2 separate regions of the Homo sapiens genome follow, and region 2 is linked to region 1. Evidence: promoter capture Hi-C in 16 types of primary human blood cells and fetal thymus (Javierre and others, 2016). All regions are on one chromosome and are shown on one strand. Each heading gives the region's core, a stretch centred on a gene start or on the middle of the fragment in contact. The rest is flanking DNA. Distances are from core to core; before and after follow the strand shown.

Region 1 (3,450 bases), core at 677-3,176:
ATCTCATATTTCAGTTATAATTAAAAACATGGGCTCTGGAGGGCAGGAAGAACAAGGCAACACATCTGATAAACAGTCACCAAAGTAAAAAGGGTTGAATAAACATGGGCACAGAGTGCAGGCTGTAAAACATGATGTTATTATTAAAGAAGCAATACAGATACCATGGGAGAAAAAGAGACAAGAAGTATTTCCATAGCATGCAATGTTTGCTTTGGGGTAACCCATGTTGACAAAAGCCATTTCATAACTACGACAGAAACTGCAGATCACATTCAAATCCATTTCTGCATCTAGATGTTAAGAACATGGTTAGTTAAGAATATAGGGCTTGGCTGGGCGTGGTGGCTCACACCTGTAATCCCAGCACTTTGGGAGGCCGAGGCGGGCAGATTGCCTGAGGTCAGGAGTTCAAGACCAGCCTGGCCCACATGGTGAAACCCCGTCTCTACTAAAAATACAAACATTAGCCAGGTGTGGTGGTGGGAGCCTGTAATCCCAGCTACTTGGGAGGCTGAGGGAGGAGAATTGCTTGAATCCGGGAGGTGGAGATTGCAGTGAGCTGAGATCATGCCACTGCACTCCGGCTGGGGTAACAGAACAAGACTCTGTCTCAAAAAAATAAATAAATAAATAAAATAAATAATAATAATAATAATAATATGGGGCTTTTGGAGTTTCAGATAGATACAGGTTTGAATTCTTGCCTCCACCATCATAGGTTGAATGACTTATGGCAAATTAATTCTCCCAAACCTTCAAATGTAATTAAGTAATTAGTAATACCTCTTTCCTAGAGTCGTTAGGAGACAAGTGAGAGTAGTACCTGGTTAGGCCAATAATTAAAACTTATTAATAGGCTATCTATCTTCTTCCCTCCTGTGAAATAGCATTTCATGCATTTAAAAATGATTAACTGGGCTGGGCACACTGGCTCATGCCTGTAATCCCAGCACTTTAGGGAGCTGAGGTGAGTAGATTGCTTGAGGCCAAGAGTTCGAGACCAATCTGCGTAAGATGGCAAAATCTCATCTCTACCAAAAACACAAAAAATAGCTGGGCGTGGTGGTGGGCGCCTGGAGTCCAGCTACTTGGGAGGCTGAGGTGGGAGGACTGCACTCCAGCCTGGGTGACACAGTGAGGCCCTGTCTCAAAAAAAAAAAAAAAAAAAAAGAAAAAATTAAAAATAAAAATGGTTAACTGAATACTTACTATCTAATGATTACAAATGTTCAAACGCCTACTACTTGCCAGACTCTGGGATCCATAGATGGGCATCAGGAGAGAGATCTTGGAAGTAATCCGAAATAGTAAAACAAATTTCCTATGCATAAGCTTTTGTGTGTGCTTGGGGTGGGGGCCGGGGGAAGTATTAGAGAGGTGGAGGGGCCATAGCTTACACGAGATTTTCAAAAGGTCTGTGACTCAAAATAACTTAATTGAGTACAGAATACCTATAATGTCCTTGTGCTGTGCCAGCGATACACGACAGTGTTTAACACTACGTCAGTTCCCGCCGTTAAAAAGCTGACAGTCACTGTGAATACAATCTCCATCTTCTAAAAAATGCAGCTGAGGTCAGCTAAAGGACGCGTTCCGCACAAGGTCAGAGAGCCAATGAGAGGCGCAGAATGAAAGAGAACTCACGTCTCCCAACTCCCACCTACAGGGCCCGGGAATCCTAGGGAGCGGGTAAAGGCCTGGGAGAGGGAGCAAGATGGGCTCCGCCACGAGATCCGCCTGAAGTCCGGCTCGGCGCCGGCCTCAACTGCAAGAGGAAGGCCACCCCTCTCTCCCCAAGCTGAAACACCAGAAGAGCCACACTCGGCCGTTCCCAACCGCCGCCAGTTACCGGCCGCCAGCGAAGACCCTTTCAGCTCCCACACTCCATTGGCCTCTTGCGGTCAGGTCACGCCGCCGGAAGCCGCCCCCGGAAACGGAAGTCAGGCTACGAGTCACGGTGGCTCCGCGCTGGCGGCGGGTTCCCCCACAAGGTCTTGGGGAAAGGAGCATGCGCTGGAAGCTGTGTGCTGTTGGTTTTGAGGATCTTCAGTAAGCTGAAAGCGGAGAGTCAGGGGCCTTGTGTCCTACCATGGTATTTGCTAACGTTTAGAGAGTGCTTCCCCTTGCCGAGCACTGGGTAAGCGCTTCACATGCGTCATCTCATTTGGAACAAGTCTCTTTTGTTCTAGCACCTATGAAGTGGCAGAGACTGATTTCTGTTTTAAAGCTGGAGACACCGAGTCTCTCCAGCTTATTTAAATATCTTTCTCAAAATGTCATGCCACTAGTTCCTGATTTCTGTATTGCCATCACTATTTTAGCACTGTTTACTTCATATTTTTCTTTAGTTTAAAAAAAATAGAAATAGTGGGGCTCACTATGTTGCCTAAGCTGGTCTCGAACATCTGGGTTCAAGTGATTCTTCTGTCTAGCCCTCCTAAAGTGCTGGGATTACAGGCATGAGCCACTGTGCCCAATCAGATGAACTTTATTTCTCATAAAGGGTTGAACCTGGCCGGGCACAGTGGCTCATGCCTGTAATCCCAGCACTTTGGGAGGCTGAGGCGGGTGGATCACTTGAGGTCAGGAGTTTGAGGCCAGGCTGGCCAACATGGTGAAACTCCATCTCTACTAAAAATACAAAAGTTAGCTGGATGTGGTGGCCTGCACCTGTAGTCCTAGCTACTTGGGAAGATGAAGCAGAAGAGTTGCTTACCCAGGAGGCAGAGGTTGCAGAGAGCCAAGATTGTGCCACTGCACTCCAGTCTGGGAGCAAGACATCATCTCAAAAAAAAAAAAAAAAAAAAAAAAAAAGAGTTGAACCTGCATGGTAGCCATTTTGACAGACTGGGAAGCCTAGCTTCCAGTCAGAAGCCAAAAACAGGCACTTCCAGGGTTGGAAGAATAAGACAGGGATTTATGCTAAACACAGTGGCCAAATATACATGTTAAATAAACTGTAAGAGGGGTCACGAATATTTATGAAAGGAGCAATTTGTGCATGTGCAGTTGAGCTTCATGCCTCTCTGTGGATCCCATGTTTAAAAAATGGTGGCCTTAGCATGATCCAAGGGTAGAGTTTTCTACCGCTTGACTTCAAAAGGTGAAGCAGGGGATGTGAAAACCCTCACTGCACGTCCTCTGTCGACTGGCCAGAACCACTCCCTGGATGGTGGGTGATCTCTTATCAGGAAGGAATGCTAGTCGGTTGTTCTATTGAAACTGCAAATGGGAGGGTCAGCATCAGGCTGGTGGAGTGAGTCTTTCAAAAGGGCTGGTTTCTGTTTAACCCTTAGGAAAGAAAATCTAATGGCGATTATAGAGGGAGGGGTTATAAAGAGGTGTGTCCGACTTCCCATCCTGTCATGAGTAGGAACTCAGCTTCCAAGTTTTTTCTAGGGTCTCCTTGGCCAAGAGAGGGCCTGTTCAGTCAGTTGGGGGGCATAG
Region 2 (3,613 bases), core at 4-2,503, 530 kb before region 1:
CCAAAAGAAGTACATACTTATCTTATTCTTCTAATTCTCTCACGTCCCAAACGTATCCTCCTCATATCCCTAAAGGCAATGTTTCTACTCTGGGCTGGCATGAAAACACCTGCTTAAGTTGTGAGGGCCCTTTCAGCCGGGGCCTAGAGATGTGAAACAAATGAGAGTTCAAAGAGCTTGTCATTCTTTAAAACTCTGGAGAGAGAGATGTGAAGAACATTCTGGGAGAGATCAATGGATTTAAGGAAGTAAAAATTTTAAAATTTTTATTTAAAAATATTTATTGTAGAAAATGTGGAAAGGTTGGAAAAAAAAAACAGTCATCTCTAGACTTCAAGCTCCATGAAGGCAGGGAACAGTTTTTTTTTTCTTTAATAAAATTGTTTATTGAAGGTATAACATGTATACAAAGACCACGTCTGCTTTTGCTCACTATTATAACCTAGTGTCTAGCAGTGTATGATGTTTGGAAGCTCAGTATTTGTCGAACTAGTAATTGAATGTAGAAATACCCCTTACGTGGGAGTGTTTATAAAATTCATTTTAGGCAAGGCGTCCTTAGGAAAGGCTGCCTTTTACTGTCTATATCCCCCCAAACGGCCCAAAATATAACACCTACCATATATTACGTGGTAGGCCTTATGCTACTTTCTTTACACGAATTACTGATTAATCTTTCACCAAAACCTAAAAGGCAGATTATTCTCTCCCTCTACAGATGAGGAAGCTGAGGCTCAAATTAGAAATTCGGTTTCGAAGGTGATACAGCGGGGCCAGCATCGACGTGACTCGGGAGCCCACGCAGGGCGGGAGCCCACGCGGGGCTGGATCCCCTCAAGGCACCGGGCGGAACAAGGGGTGGAGCTCGCGGGGGCCACGGGGCTTTCCAGGATGGGGGACAGGCCCGAAGCCGTCACGGGAGGAGGGGACTTGGCAGGTGAGCGGGGGCTGGCTGGGGAGCAAGACCCTGAGGCCGGGCCGGCGTCGCTCCCCAAGCCCCGCAGGCTCCAGCGGGGGAGAAAGCCTCCGTGCTCCTCGCCTCACTTCATACCTCATCTGGTAGTGCATGGCGACGCGCTCCCGGTGCTGAAAGTCGCTGCCGTCGGTGCCGGCCGCTCGCGGGCCTGCTCGAGACGCCATTGTGCCTGCCCAGAACCCCCGAACCCCTCACGCGGACCTGGTACCGCAACGACACCGCCAAGCGGCCCACTGACCCTATTTGCGCCCCCGCAGCCGCGCGGCTCCGTGAAGAGAACTTCCGGCCCCTCTGTCTCTGGAGGACCGACTCTATGGTCACTCCTCTCCGCGCAGGCGCCCTCGTTCCCTCTCGCCCCCGCCCCGCCCAGCCCCGCCTCTTGTGGAGCGCGCAGGAAATTAATCCCCAGCCTCTTTTGCTGGCGCCCAGAGGCCGCTTGAACACTTTTACTTTCTTAAGCTGTAATATCAGTTAGGATACTTCTGTCCACACTTTACAGAGGGGGAAACTGATATATTCTATGACTTTCCCTGGAGCACACATCATTCACACAGCCTCACACCTTTAATCCCAGCACTTTGGGAGGCCGAGGTGGGTGGATCACTTGATGTCAGGAGTTCAAGACCAGCCTGGGCAACATGGTGAAATCCCGTCTCTACTAAAAATACAAAAATTAGCCAGGTGTGGTGGGTTCCTGTGACCCCAGCTACTTGGGTGGCTGAGGCAGGAGAATCGCTTGAACCAGGGAGGCAGAGGTTGCAGTAAGTCGAGATTGTGCCAATGCACTCCAGCCTGGGGGACAGAGTGCAGAGTGAGACTTTGTCTCAAAATAAGTTTCTCACATTTAATTATTGCAAAGAGAAACAGGGAATCTCTCAGTGAGGAAATCTGGCTTGTCTCCCTTAAACATATAGTCAGTTAATTTGATCAATAATGAGATAAACTGATATCTTGTGCCTCTTTTAATAGACTGAGGACACAGCATCACTTCTATGATGTTTCTGCCAAAAATACCTAACTGAATCTAATCATGAAGAAATGACATAAATCCAGACGGAGGGACAGTCTAGAAGAGAGCTGGACTGTACTCTTCAAAAATGTCAAGGCCATGAAAGAAAAATTATTTCCAAATAAACTTTATCTGTAGAGACAAAGTAGAATGACCATTGCCAGAAGCTCGAGGGGTGGACAGAGAATGGGGAGCTAGTGTTTAATGGGTACAGAGCTTCAGTTCGGGAAGATGAAAAAAGTTCTGGAGATGGATGGTGGTACTGATTGCACAACTATATGTGTGTGCTTAATGCCACGGAAACTGTACACTTAAAAATGATTAACATAGTAAGTTTTATGTTATGTGCATTTTACCACAACAAAATACTAAGCGAAACTTTAAAGAAAGAAGTTATATTATCCGAATAAAGAAAAAAAGAAAGAAAAAAGCATGTATAGTGAGCATCTTCCATGCACCAGGATGCTCTGCTATGACCTGGGGACGCAGAAATAAACATGGTCCATTTCCCCTGAGGGATCCCAGCCCAGTCGGGGGAAGAACTTGTACCCATGAAGCTAAGAAATTCAAGAAAACACAGGAGGCTGAGGGAGGAAAAATGAGGCCTCTCTCCCTGACCTGGAGGGTTAGGAAAGTCTCTCTGGAGTGGCAGCAATTGAGCTGAGGTCTGAAGCCTGAGTGGGAATTGGCTAAAGAGGTGGGGAGCGGAAGAGCTTTTCAGGCAGAGGGAACAGCATGTGTGAAGGCCCCAAATCCAGAGAGCACTTGGCTCTTCAAAGAACTGAGAAACTTAAGAGTGACTGGAGCATTTGGAGGGTTCAGTAAAGAGTTAAGTCTTTATCCCAGGGGGTTTGGGGAACCACTAAAAGGTTTAACCAGGAAAATGACACAGTTTTGCATTTTTAAAAGATAGGTCTAGGTGGGGGCACAGTGCCTCAAGCCTGTAATCTCAGCACTTTGGGAGGCCAAGGCAGGAGATCAGCCTGGGCAACATAGTGAGACTCCCGTCTCTACAAAAATAAAAAATAAAATAATATTAACTGGCATGGTGGTGCGTGCCTGTAGTCCAGGCTACTCGGGAGGATGAGGTGGGAGAATCATTTGAGACCAGGAGTTCAAGGTTACAGTGAGCCATGATTATGCCACTGCATTCCATTCTGGGCAACAGAGTAAGACACTGTCTGTAAATAAATAAATAAAGATAGATCTAGTTGCTGTGTAGAGAATGGCTTGCAGGGGCCAAGGGTGAAGCAGAGGAATCACTTGAAGGCTACTGCAGTAATTCAGGCAATCCTAGGGGTGGCTTGGGCTAGGAGGTGGCAATGGACAGAGAGGAACAGATTTGAGTTCCTTGGGATTTAACATCTGTAGGTGGGTAACAAGAGCACATATGACCAGCAAGGGGCTCACACTAGGAAGGGAGTCTGTGTGGCTGGGATCTGAGAAAGGCAAGCAAGAAATCAGCAACATTGGCCGGGCACGGCTCACACCTGTAATCCCAGCACTTTGGGAGGCCGAGGCAGTGGATCACTTGAGGTCAGGAGTTCAAGACTAGCCTGGTCAACATGGTGAAACCCTGTCTCTACCAAAAGAAATACAAACATTATCAGGGTGTGGTAGCGCATGCC

Evidence for each region. Contacts are between HindIII fragments. The CHiCAGO score rates a contact against its expected background, and 5 or more counts as called.
Region 2: the fragment with the promoter of JAGN1 here is called in contact with the fragment with the promoter of THUMPD3 in region 1 in 1 of 17 cell types (neutrophils); the score reaches 5.3 in neutrophils.

The regions. Positions count from the first base shown.
Region 1 is chr3:9,361,530-9,364,979 of GRCh38, reverse strand. It overlaps THUMPD3 (THUMP domain 3 tRNA guanosine methyltransferase), which reads right to left and starts at 1,926. Exons shown (of 10, transcript NM_001114092.2): 1 at 1,853-1,926. It also overlaps a transcript of SRGAP3 not described here. RefSeq lists enhancers at 1,477-1,536, 1,557-1,636, 1,707-1,766, 1,987-2,196. The HindIII fragment of the contact is 4,632 bases long and covers 1,338-3,450 here.
Region 2 is chr3:9,888,250-9,891,862 of GRCh38, reverse strand. JAGN1 (jagunal vesicle mediated transporter 1) reads right to left here and starts at 1,253. Exons shown (of 2, transcript NM_032492.4): 1 at 1,052-1,253. The coding sequence starts at 1,140. The HindIII fragment of the contact is 18,772 bases long and covers 1-3,613 here.